3 separate regions of the Homo sapiens genome follow, and regions 2 and 3 are each linked to region 1. Evidence: promoter capture Hi-C in 16 types of primary human blood cells and fetal thymus (Javierre and others, 2016). All regions are on one chromosome and are shown on one strand. The core of a region is centred on a gene start or on the middle of the fragment in contact, and the rest is flanking DNA. Distances in the headings are between cores, read along the strand shown.

Evidence for each region. Contacts are between HindIII fragments. The CHiCAGO score rates a contact against its expected background, and 5 or more counts as called.
Region 2: a fragment that was not itself captured here is called in contact with the fragment with the promoter of SEC61G in region 1 in 1 of 17 cell types (total B cells); the score reaches 6.2 in total B cells.
Region 3: a fragment that was not itself captured here is called in contact with the fragment with the promoter of SEC61G in region 1 in 1 of 17 cell types (fetal thymus); the score reaches 6.9 in fetal thymus.

The regions. Positions count from the first base shown.
Region 1 is chr7:54,756,644-54,760,975 of GRCh38, forward strand. SEC61G (SEC61 translocon subunit gamma) reads right to left here and starts at 2,568. Exons shown (of 4, transcript NM_014302.4): 1 at 2,515-2,568; 2 at 852-951. The coding sequence starts at 945. SEC61G-DT (SEC61G divergent transcript) reads left to right here and starts at 2,670. Exons shown (of 3, transcript NR_110040.1): 1 at 2,670-2,881. RefSeq lists a silencer at 2,218-2,537 and an enhancer at 2,771-3,706. The HindIII fragment of the contact is 2,422 bases long and covers 557-2,978 here.
Region 2 is chr7:50,065,531-50,069,862 of GRCh38, forward strand. All of the region lies in intron 3 of ZPBP (zona pellucida binding protein), which reads right to left. Among named protein-coding and RNA genes, the nearest start is that of ZPBP, 26 kb to the right of the region's middle. RefSeq lists an enhancer at 3,750-3,839. The HindIII fragment of the contact is 1,232 bases long and covers 1,253-2,484 here.
Region 3 is chr7:50,443,970-50,448,301 of GRCh38, forward strand. It overlaps FIGNL1 (fidgetin like 1), which reads right to left. Exons shown (of 4, transcript NM_001287492.4): 3 at 4,212-4,320; 4 at 164-3,328. The coding sequence starts at 3,318. The coding sequence ends at 1,294. Among named protein-coding and RNA genes, the nearest start is that of FIGNL1, 4.2 kb to the right of the region's middle. RefSeq lists an enhancer at 2,382-3,581. The HindIII fragment of the contact is 2,949 bases long and covers 1,609-4,332 here.

The DNA.
Region 1 (4,332 bases), core at 1,318-3,817:
CTCTGTCTGAGTTGAGCACAATTTTATAAAACATTACACTGGTAATGTTGTCATTTTATGTTACTTCCTAAGAGAAGCTTTCCCTGATCTCCTGACTTGGTTAGTCCTCCTATTATGTGCTGTCAAACTTCCTTCTAGTTATCTTCCATAATACTTAACACAGCAGTAATTAAAAAATATAACCGCAATAATTTGTTTATGACAGTCTTCCTTGGTAAGAGTCTAAGCTCCATGACAGCAAGGACTATTCTCTTTACTATAATATATACATGTTATATACTATATTATATACTATATACTATACTATATATATACTATATACTATATATACTATATACTATATACTATATTATATACTATATACTATATTATATACATGTTATATTCTCTATTATATTACCAGCTCCTAACTCAATGAATGAATAAAAGTAGACAAATTTAACACATGAATCATGATAAATAACAAAATTAACTTTCTAGTTTGGCAAAAACTATATTGTTGGTTTCATGTTAAGGTTTTGTTCGTTGGGGTGGGAGCTGAGTAGGGAGACTTCAAAGCTTTTCCAAAGAGAAAATATGTAAGATACTAAAAGTCATAAAATGTTACTAACTAAAATGTTACATGGAACATAAGGCTGTAATAAATAATCTTACACCATTTGAAAATACATAAAAATTTAGACGAGTAAAAAATTTAGGAAGAAGTGACAACGTTAAAAAGCTGTCGCGCAGGATCAATCAATAAAAATGTTGATCAAAGTAATGCAAGGGCTATTAATCAAGATGTTAATCAAACAAAAGGCTTAGAAAATGCAAAGATTTAATTTTTTCTCTCATAGTCAAGCAATTACCTTTTCTATCAGGTTTAGTGCATCTTTTAACCAGCCGAATGGAGTCCTTTACAAACTGCCGACTTGGCTCAACAAACTGCATTACCTGATCCATGACTGCCTGTTTAAAACAAAAAAGATACTCACTGGTATTGGTTCTCATACAATAAGCACTTGCTCATTTATATAAAGATGTAAATGAGACCAGCCACTGAATTCACGTCTAACATGGGTCAATTCCACCTCCTAAAATAAAACAAAAAACAAACTCCAAAGCCTAAATTGATATTATTTTTGGAAATTTCAGTTAATTATCAAAGGCAATAAGAAAAGCACAGATCTTACTCATGATATCTTCACTGACAAAGAACAGCACACGCAATATAAAAAGCCTATCTCTATTAAAAGGTTAAAAAAGGTTACGCAATTGGTAACACATCCATTCCTTTTCTCACTCTGCAGTCCCATCCATTTCTCATTCTACAGTCCCCTCACCGCTCCTAAGGAACCATCAGTGTTGAGATCCAACAATTACTTTCCATATTTTATTTTAAACTACGCAGAAGCCAGTGTCTTGTACAGTGAATGCCAACTACGGTGCTGCAAGAGCCTAGAATAGAGGCAAACGTGAATTTCAACCTTGATTTTTCTAAAACGTGCCAATACAACATACTTTTCTAAAGTATAAAGAATGGCTAAAGGAAGACGCAAATTCTGAGAAGCTACTAGCTAAATTTCAAACTTTTCGATTTGAACACATCTTTTAAGGAAACAGGGCTATATATTTTACCATACAGGTTCTTTTGAGGAATCTATTACCCAATAGAAATGTTATCCGATCTTAGCTTTGAGAGCCACTGCTATAGTAAGTAAAGCAGCCAGGGTGTTATTTGTATTTTCCTCCATTTCCAGTACTCAGAACAGTGGCCAGGTGGTAGTTCAAATCACTGGCTATGGAATGTAAACCTCTGTAAGCCCCAGTTGCCTTCCTTAGTGTAGGGTGTGGACAACGAAATGAAATAATGTCAATGAAACACCAGGAATTCTGCAACGTTCTGGGGGCAAAAACACAGTAATGTCTGTTTTCTCAGTATTTCACTCAACTTTGCTCTTGAAATCCAAAGGGCTTAAACTTTTTGTAATCATAGTTGTCACGAAGGAAGCTAAGAATTCTTTATCCAGAAAAACGCACGCTACACACAATACCGCACTCAATGTCAGGGGTAGAGATCCAAAAACCAACTATGATCTCTCGAACTAGACTCTAGACCAATGCTCTCACTTTAAACCACGGAAGCGGCGGCAGGACCAGAGCTGAGTACAGCTCTTCCCAGACAGGACTCCACAACAGCACACAGAGCCAACCCCGAAGGGATCGGGCAGCAGGACATCATCTTTGGCTGCAGCACAGAAGACGCCGGGGCAGGACGCTAAGCCCTGGAGCCCCGCGGGCCGGCCACCCAGCTCGCCGGGAGTCCGCGGCCCTGGGTCTGCCTTCCGCCAGAGGCCGAGTTGGTGGGATGTCGGCGGCCAGACCCCGGCCCTGAGCCAGGGGACCACTTACCGCCCGCCCCGCGACGGCCGCCCGGGGAGACACGCCGGCTCGCCCACGCCCGCTGCCCCCAAGAGTCGCAAAGGTGTGGCCGCCCCGTTCGCCCGTACCGACCGGTGGGAAGAAACTCACCTACCCAACCGACACCTAAAATGCCAGGGACACGTAGCACTGGAGCTTGCTGATGGAGGCCCACCGGAACCGGAATCCGGGTTTCTGCCAACAGCCCGCCCACTCCTCCGTCCTATTGGTTCCTTACGCGAAACCTCAGTGCGCAAGCGCAGCGCGACGTGCGCCCGGCCACGCTTCCTGGAAGAGATGCATTGCGGAGCTCGCTAGTTGGGGCGTTGGCCTTCCTTAGGAGTGTGAGTCTAGCGTTATCCCTTTTTTCCGGCTGGATCCCGGGTTACCCCACCAGCCCGACCTCAACCCACTCACGTCCACAGCACGAGCCCCAGCGGCCTTGCGCGGTGCTTGCTCTCTAGTAGCGGCTGACTAGGTAAATCCTAAGTTGTGGTTTTTTTTCCTGCGGTCCAGCTTGATGTGTGTCCTTACGGTACATACTTTTTGTATGTATATAATGTTGGTCGAAATGAAGCTTATGAGCAATATAATGTTATGGCCTAATTCAAAATAGTATCCCCACCCCAAACTTTGACTTTGGCTGTCATTCACGGTAATGAATGCCGCTGTAATTGAGGCCTTTGTCAAACGCTAGGTTTGGTTACGGGAGTGGTCATAATGTACACACAGCTCCCCACTTACCCACAAGGATGCATTCCAGGAACCCCCCGCCGGATGGCTGAAACCGTCAGTAGAGACGGGGTTTCACCATATTGGCCAGGCTGGTCTTGAACTCCTGACCTCGCGATCCACCCGCCTCGGCCTCCCAAAGTGCTGGGATTACAGACGTGAGCCACCGCGCCCGGCCATGTTTCCTTTTAGCAATGGAGCATAACGGGATCTGAGGAACAATATAACTCAGGAAGAGCTGATGGAACATTAAGACGTGTTACAACTCTCAGTGCTTCTTAAACTTCTTCAGTAACTGAAATCTCCTGTTAAGTTTTTTAGTAAATGAAATTTGTAACCCCAGAACCTCCAGATATTGATTCAGTGGGTCAGGGTTAGAGGTCACACACCTCCGTATATCTGACTGTAGGTGGTCCATACACACTACACATACCTTGCCTTAGCTTTAAGAGTCACTTTTAAATTCTGAACAGACTGAGATGCGTTTGACTAGTTCTTCATCCCTGGGACTTCAGCCCATGTGTCATCTCCTTAGAGGCCTATAGTGACCATCTAAGGCAATCCTGTCTATCTCATGCTCTTTTTTCCTTTTTCACAATACCTTCTTCATTTGCTGCATAGCATTTGTATTAACATTTATTTATTTATTCCTCGGTCTGTCTCCCTACACTGTAAATCCCCTTACTAGACCATAAGCTCCAAGTGGGTATAATATAGCATCTAGTAAAGTGCTAAACACAGTAAATGCTCAATAAATAATTTTCAAAAAAATAATTCATTCCAAAAAAACATAAAATCACATGTTGGCAAGTTCACCCCAACCACCAAATGTCTGAGTTGACAGTATTTTCAGCAAAACACAGAAAATCAAGTAACACATACAGTGGTTCCCCTTATCCAAGAAAATCTGGTTCAAAAAGAGATGTGTACCAGAAGGTAATCTGGGAGAGGCCACATTCAAATAACTTTCATTACAGTGTATTGTTATAATTGTCTACTCACCTGATTTCGGGAGTTTGAGACCAGCCAGACCAACGTGGAGAAACCCCGTCTCCACTAAAAATACAAAAATTAGTCTGGAATGGTGTCGCATGCCTGTAACCCTAGCTACTCAGGAGGCTGAGGCAAGAGAATCCCTTGAACCCGGGAGGTGGAGGTTGCAGTGAGCTGAGGTCACACGACTGCACTCCAGCCTGG
Region 2 (4,332 bases), core at 619-3,118, 4.7 Mb before region 1:
ATTATGGAGGTTTTTAACAACTAAACACTGGCTGAGGCTGTTGGTTCACTGACTGGGTTAGGTGAAGTGAAGTGATCTTGTGGCATTAATTTTTTTGCCTCCCATGGCCACTGGTCTCCCATTTTTGTTTCTCCACATACATAGTATGAGGAAATTCTTAAGCTGCCAGCTATGTTTTCAGCTAGTTGAGCAAATATCGTTTTGGTTGATGGGAGAAGCTCAGGCACTGACTGATTAAAATGCTTTTAGAATGACTTATGGACCTGGAATTGCAGGGTTGGATGCATTTGAGTCCTTCTAGTCTTTTTGACAATTAGTAGTGGAACTCCAAGGCCTGTTCCTTTTAACTTGTAACAGTGCTGTCTGTCCTGTAGACCAAAAAGGTAGCTCTGGCTTTAAGACAGTAAAATTTAAAGAACTGCATGTCCTTGTCTTACAATTTCATTTGGTTGACATACTACTTAGTAGAGCAGTCTTTCCTGAATATAAGTGTTGGAGCTGTGTTAGCGTATTCCACTGAATGTTACAGTCTGGGCATCCAATTTGTGGTTTTCTGTACAGATGTTTAGGGCTGCTGCTGCTTAAGCCTCTCTTGTGTTAAACCATTGCAGACTGCTTCTGATTGTTTTAGGATTATGAACATATGCAGCATGGCAGGCATCAAAGTACAAGGAAATAGGCCTTTTATAGGAGAGAGGGTCTTCTTTGGTTTGAGCTATAAGCTCTCTTTCTTTTTTTTTTTTCTCTGATTTAATATGTGTTTTAAACCAGAATTTATAGGTTAAGAGCTTAGGGTCATAACATACATATAGCTGATTATTTCCTGGGTCACAGACTGAATAGGTGGTCTGGTTGTATGTGCAGGTTCCTAACCTGGTTCCTGTATATTTATAGTAGGTATGGTAGAGTTGTAACTATGGTATTCCTTACCCAGGTAGTGTCTACACAGTGTGGGCATTTTTCTAGAGATTTCTTCCCTTTTAGTATAGGCAGAAATGGTAAAAACATTAGCGTAGGTAATAGAACTATGCTTACACTACACATAGGCATGGCAAACATTCCTCTGGGCATAGACATTTGCAGCATTTGCAGTAATAACATAACAACAGAACAATCAGTACTGATAGAATTATAACTAGGCTTATACATTGTATTCACATTTACTTATCCAGAGATGGTCCTCTTAGCTTCAGCTGTGCATAGACTAGTCAGCTTTCGGGATGTGATTAGAGCAGAGCTTGCAGGATCCTCAAGCTTCAGCCATGCATAGACTGACCAGCCTCCAGTGTGGTCAGAGCAGGGCAGTTGTCCTTACCAGTGGCTGGGTTTCACTGTAGGACTATTCGGGTCGGGCGATCTGGGTCTTGTTGGCTAATCCACTGGTCGTCGTCGGGAGTCACTACTGCCGCTGATTTTAGCCAGCTATGGTGAATCCAAGGTGTGACACCTGCAACTTTAACAGCAGTGGGAGTAGACATGATCACAATATGGGGCCTATCTTATATGGGTCCTAGAGTGGTTAGACCCTATTTTTTAACCTAAACAAAGTCCTCAGGTTTGAAAGGGTGTACTGGGTCTGTTAGACTTACACGCATTTTTTTTCATACCTAACCATGCATCTTTTGCATGGCCATACTTAAAGCCTGCATTTGCCTTTACGTTTGCCTTTCCCTTTTTTTTAGCCTTTAGTGTTCTTGCTTTTTGGTGCCCCTTGCAGCACATCACAACCACCTCTTTGGGGGCCCATACAGCATTTAAGAGCTGTAGAATTTCTTCCTTGTACTTTATTTTTTTACTTCCAGCAGTTAAAATCTTTTTTTTTCCTTCGTAAATAGCCTCATGAACATGCAAAGCAGCAGAAGCATATTTGGAATCTGTGTAAATATTTGTCCTTTGGTCTTTTGCTAGCCAAAGAGTTCTTGTCAGAGATATTAGCTCTGCTTTCTAAGCAGAAGTTTCTATAGGCAAAGACTGCACTACTGAGTCCAAAGTCACCACTGTATACCTAGCTCAGCAGACTCCCTTTAATATGAAACTGCTTCTATCAGTAAAATATTCAATGTCTGGGTCCTTGAGGAGCTGATCTGTCAAATCTCTTCGGCTTGAGAACATTTCATCTACCATGTCCACCCAGCAATGAAAAGGGCCTCCTGTCACTGACTCGATGAGGAGCAACATAGCCGGGTTTAGAGTATTCACAGTCTCTAAAGTCAGTTTATTAGCTTCCTGCACCAGTAGGGCAGTGGCAGCTAGTGTTTTAAAATAAGGAAGCCATCCAAGTGCCACAGAATCTAATTGCCTGGATAAGTATGTCACTGGGTGATGCCATGACTTTATGACTTGAGTTAGAGTTAGAACTGGTGTGGTCAGAGCAGGGCAGTTGTCCTTCTAAGGACTTCTAATTTAGTAGTTGTCCTTCTAAGTTCTAACTTAGAGTTAGAACCTCTATGGCCTCCCTTTCACTTGTGGACATACAAGAAGAAAAGCTTAGTTAGTTAGATCTGGTAGTCCTAAAGCTGGAGCCTGAGTCAAGGCTTCTTTGATTTTTTTTTAAAGCCTTCTCCTGGTTGGCCTCTTAGAGGAGAGACTCCTTTTTTTCTCCTCTTTGTGGCTTTGTATAATGGCTTAGCCATGAACAAGACATTTGGCATCTAAATGTGGCAGAACCTTGCTGCCCTTAGGGACTCTCTTATTGGACGCCAGGTGGTTGGAGTAGGAAGTGCACAAACAGCCTGCTTTTGTTCACTCCAAGGCATCGTTCTTCTTGGCTTATATGAAAGCCCAACTACTGGACACTTTTAAAGCACATCTGAGCTTTCTCCTGACACTTTATAGCCTGTCTTTCACAGCAGGTGCAGGGGGTCTTGGGTTTTTCTGGGTGCAGTAGCCCTTGGCCAGTGTTTTTTTTTTTTTTCATACTATGGCCCTGACATTTATCCTTCTAGTGTGCTTTTCTTTTACATCAAGCACATTAATCTTTCTCTAGCCTCAGCCGGCTTTCAAACTCCTGTCCAGACTAGCTTTTTCCACGACTGCGTTCACACCTGCGTTCATGCCTCCTTGCAAAGCCAGCTTCTCTTTCCGTAAGGGTTGCTGCTAGTAAATTAGCCTTTTTAAAGCCTCCGATCAGCCTTCTGATCTCGGTTAATTTACATCTTGGTAGCCACTTTAATAAGCTGAGTAGCATTCACACCTATGGAGCTTCTAACTTCTGCAATTTATGCCTGGTATCTCCTTGGTCCTGCCTTACAAACACCATATTCACAATGTGCTGATTTTCAGCAGCCTCAGAGTTAAACGGAGTATACAACCGAAATGCCTCACAGTCTTTTATAAAATTGGCTGGTGCTTTTATCTGCACCCTGGAGCACCTCTGAGATTTTTATATTGGTTGCCTTTCTTTTACCATCCTTTAGCCTTTGCAGAACTGCTTCTCAGCACCTTTGTAGGTGCTAAAGCTCGACTGCATCATCTGGCTCTTAGCAGGGGTCCTCTTGTCCTCTTAAGAGGCATAAGCATAACTTGGGCACGGCCAGATCTGAGACGGCCTGCCTGACTTTTTGAGCCTTTCACTTTAATTTCCCTGAGCCCTGATTTCTCCTTCTCATGTGAGATTGACAGCCTGTATTCCTTTTAACTTAACTCCTTAGAGGCAGTTAGCCTGGTAAATGGGTAGATTGGAATGTAGGGAGGAGGGGTCTCTATTCCCTACTGTGGTTCTTGCAAAACTGGTTTTTCTGCCTTTCCAGAGACTTTTTTTTTGTCTCAGCTTCTGGGGCAGCTGATTTTTACTTTCACTATTGGCTTGGCGGTGCTACAAGCCTCTGTGACTTTCCCTTTAACTCTGTAGCTGCCAGCACAGCTAGTTTCTCTTGGCGTGAGCTGCAAGCATTTTACAATAAACTGCTAGGCAGGGCTGCATTCATTTAGTCATGAGTCAATACAAAGACTAGGTCTGAATGCCTTGGATGTCCTCCAACCCTAGTCACCACCTTAAAACACACGACCAATTTCTCTATAGTGCCTTCGGCCAGCCATCTAACACAAAGAGGGCTACTCTAATTCACAGTATGTCCTCAACTTTTGAACATCCAGTTTTATCCCATAATCACCACTAAATCTTTTTTTTTAAATTCTTTATCATGCACTCCAAAAGGGTTGGTTTTGATGCTTTCCCTCCTATTTCCTCCCTTGCAACGCACTTTCACTCTCACTTTCACTCTCAGATCCACCAGACGGGGTCCTATTACAGGAGTTTCAGACACTGCTCAGCCAGGAACGTGCCTTCCCCTGTCATAGCCTGCTGCGGCTACGAAGCTGGTCCTATCAGCC
Region 3 (4,332 bases), core at 1,833-4,332, 4.3 Mb before region 1:
CTACGTTCACTACCTTCAGTTTTTTGAATAAATGCAAAAAGAATGCCAACAAATACCAAAACTGCCTACTGCCCAATGCTGCCATAGCTCTGATTCAGTGCAGATGGAGTTTTACACAGGAACTACTTTTTCAAGAGGACAATTTAGAATGCAAGCCAAAAGCTTTAAAAAGTGCATATTCTTTAATCCAGGAATTACTCAAGAAATTTATACATTTTTTAAAAAGATCACCAAATGCATCCCACATAGTTCCTTTACAATAAACAAAAGATAAACAACCTAGCGTCCTGTCCTATATGCGCTCTACCAGATGACTCAATTATATTCCATCCATCCATGGAATCCTAGACAATCATAAAAGGACATTTATGTTAACATGGAAAGTGAAGATACGCTTTGAAGAATAGGCTACAAGAGAGAATACATTACACAATCCTACTGCTGTATAAAACAAAACATCTGGAAGAATCTATGCTTAAATATTAATAGTGTGTCCCGCAAAGTGGTAGGATAATAGTGACTTTTATTCTTTTTACTTATCTCTATTTTCTCATGTTTCTGTAATGAACATGTTTCATAAAACAAAATGGGTCTGTTATAAAAATCTGAAAACTTGTTTTTGAAAGAGAGCAGTATTACAGGCTGTAGTGTCAAATAAAATATTAATGTTAAATATCACACGCTCCCGTGAAAATAACCAACATTCTTAATTAACCTTTCAGTTCTGTGAATCTAATACTAGATCACACCTTGCTATTTCTGAAAATGTTAGTCCTGATAAAAATTAAAAACCATAAAAGAGGTAACAAATTGGCTGAAGAAAGTAAAAATTGGCACTTTAGCTTTGAGATCTTAAATCTACTTAAATAACACTAAGCAATACTTTGTCCAAATGTAAACCATTATACTAGCTGACATTAAGAATTATGTGGCCATCAGAAGGCACTTTCTTCAATAAAAGATGAATATTAATCAGACACAACTTTATATGTAATCTTCAACTAAAAAAAATTTGAGCTCACTTTTCATGTTATATAGCTTCAAGATAAAGACTTCTTAGAAACAAAAGTTCATTCTCACTTTGTTCAAATAGGCTTACGTATCAGGTAATCACTGGAAAGCAAAACTTACATTAACATACACTATGTCAATCAGATGTAAAATCTGTGCTATTATTTGAAGTACAGAACTTAGAATATATTCTTAAAAATACAATTAACACATCCCCAACTTTCTATGCTAAAAAATAAAGAAGACTGTACTACAGAGATGCCTTGATTCCAAGTATCCCACTTACTTTCCACAACCAAAAGTTTTGTTCCAGTTTTCATAAAGCTCTAAATCTTTTGGAGAAACACTAGGTCGCACAGTTCTAAAAGCATTTTCAAAATCAATGTAAGCTATGGGTCGAACTTGATCCGGTGTTATGGTAGCAATGTCAGCAGTTTGTAAACTGCGAATAGGACCAAGAGAAGCCTCCCTGCAAAGCTGTGTCATGTCTGCTCCTGAAAACGCATCAGACTGCTGTACAATCTGTTCAATTTCTTCTTCACTGAGGCAACACTGCTCTTTGGACATTAGATTAATTACTATCTGTTTCCTGGCTGAAGCTTCTGGGAGGGGAATATAAAGCCTTTTCACCAATCTTCTCCGGGCAGCCTCATCAATTTCTTGTGGCCGATTTGTTGCTCCCACCACTAGGATACGATCTTCAGAAGATGTTGTTGCTCCATCTAATTGAACTAAAAATTCTGTTTTTATCCTTCTAGAAGATTCATGCTCACCATCTCCCCGTTGAGATAACAAGGAATCAATTTCGTCAATAAATATCACAGCTGGTTGCTGACACCTTGCAACAGCAAACAATGCACGGACCATTTTCTCCCCCTCACCTACCCATTTAGAAGTTAAGGATGAAGCAGAGATGCTAAAGAATGTTGCCCCAGACTGACTAGCAATGCACTTGCCAATTAGAGTTTTACCAGTCCCAGGAGGACCAAAGAGCAAAATTCCTTTAGGGGGTCCCCTTAAACCAGTAAAGATGTCTGGCCTCAACATGGGCCACACAACTATTTCCTTTATGGTGGCTTTAGCAAATTCTACTCCTGCAATATCTTCCCAATTTACTGGAGGTCCATGATCCATAATCTCATTCATAATAAGTTCAATCATCTTTGGCTCCAAGTTCTTCAGACGCTCATCAACTGGATGTGCTGGTTCTGTAGGTCCTGCCCCATAAGGCTTACATTGCATTCCTCCATTCTGCTCTCCCCCATCTTGCTTGGGTATAGGAGGAACAAACTTTCCAAGTATCCCTCGGGATCTACTAGCTCCTAGAGACTTTTTTACACCACCATATGAAGACCCTGATGCACGCTGAGGTTGGTGGTACTTTTTTTGCTGATCTACCCATAATTGTTCTTTTGCAGTTTTAAATGTAGGCAGGCTGCTATCCTCCTTTGGGCCATTATCTTCTGTTTTACTACAAGCCTTATTCAGTATTGGATTGGAAAGTGCATCAATGGTGCCAGAACCATAAAAAGACTTCCTCTGTGGATTTTCACAGGCAGCAGGAAAACAAGACTGGTTAGATAAGAACACATTAAGTCCTATGTTTTCTTTTGCAGAGCTGTGATTTTCCTTTTTGACATTTCCAAACAATGGTGTGACATGGAATTTTGCAGTAGCTGACTCACCTACAGGTGCTGAGAATGTAGGACAAGTCCTAGCAGTGTTAGTCACCATAGGTGGCTGGGCATTCTGAAGGAGTTTCAAACGATTGCTCTCCGGGAAGTCTTGGGTCCGGTCTCGATCATGAGCTGAGTTAGGTAATGAGTCACTCTCTTGAGAACTACCACAAACACTAAATTTAGGAAGATCAAAGACAGTGGCCTCCTTATGGATTACCACTGATGCAAGAGCAGGTTCCAACAGAGAGTCTTTGAATTTTTTGCCAGCTTGCATCATCTTCTGTACACTACTCATTTTGAAAACATTATTTATTGACAATCCAGACTGCCACTTGTCACTATCTGTTTGTTGAGATCCTGCCAAAGTTAAAATGTTTTCTGCATAATTATTCAACCCAGATTCAACATTGTCAGAATCAATAATTGCAGAATATTTCTCTGCATATTTTTTGAACAGTTTGGTAGCACAGACCTGGGAAATCTCAGAGTTTGCCCATGCATACTGAATGCGTAATATCTGTGCACGGTATGCATCTGCCTTCGGTCCGGTACATATGCCAGATGTAATTGCGAAGTAATTCTTCTGCCATTCACTCAGGTGCACAGATCTAGAGCTGGAGGTCTGCATTTTAGAGGTTCTATAACAAACAATAAAAATGAAAATCAGTATGAAGGAAAACAAAGAAAATACTTTAAATGTAATTTTGAAACTTCTGCTAATCTGAAGGAAGGGACACTGGACTTTTTATTTATAATGTAGATTTATAAGGACAGGTTATAAGAGAAATATCTAGTTAACTATAGATTTCAAGTATTCAAGACATATCAATATGAAGTCTTCAAAATTAAGGACTTGATTAAATAATAATTTATATGAGTTAAATTGTTCTAGTTACATAATTTTATCTGTAGGGAAAGCATTCATAAGGTTTAAAATTAATTTTAAATTTTAAAAACAATGGAACTATAGATACATAAAGCAAAACAAAATAAACAAGAGGTTTAAGTCTGATCTATAAAACTAGGTGAATGAGCTTAAGTGAGCTTTTTACTATCACTGATGGTTTATTTTTATTTTATTATTATTTTTTTTTGAGACAGTGTCTCGCTCTGTCACCCAGGCTGCTGGAGGGCAGTGGCGCTCTCAGCTCACTGCAACCTCCACCTCGCGGGTTCAAGTGCTTCTCCTGCCCCAGCTTCCCAAGTAGCTGGGATTACAGGCACCTGCCACCACCCCTGGATAATTTTTATATTTTTAGTAGAGATGGGGTTTCGCCATGTTAGTCAGGCTGGTCTTGAACTCCTGACCTCAGGTAATCCACCCGCCTCAGCCTCCCAAAGTGCTGGGATTACAGGCGTGAGCTACCGCGCCCAGCTGGTTCTTCAGTTTTCTTATCTGCAAAGTGAGAGGAACCATTGGAAGAATCAAATCAAGCAATGACTATGAAAATAATCTGAAAACTATCATTATCCTTATCACACAAATGTACAAACCGAGGCTGAGAGACTTAAAGAACTTACTTGAGATCACACAGCCAGTTATGAATGGTATCAGAAATCGAACACAAGCAGTTTCACTCCAGGTACTGTGCACTTCTGCATGTACACAATGCTCCTTGATGCTGCTATCCTAGGTCACAGA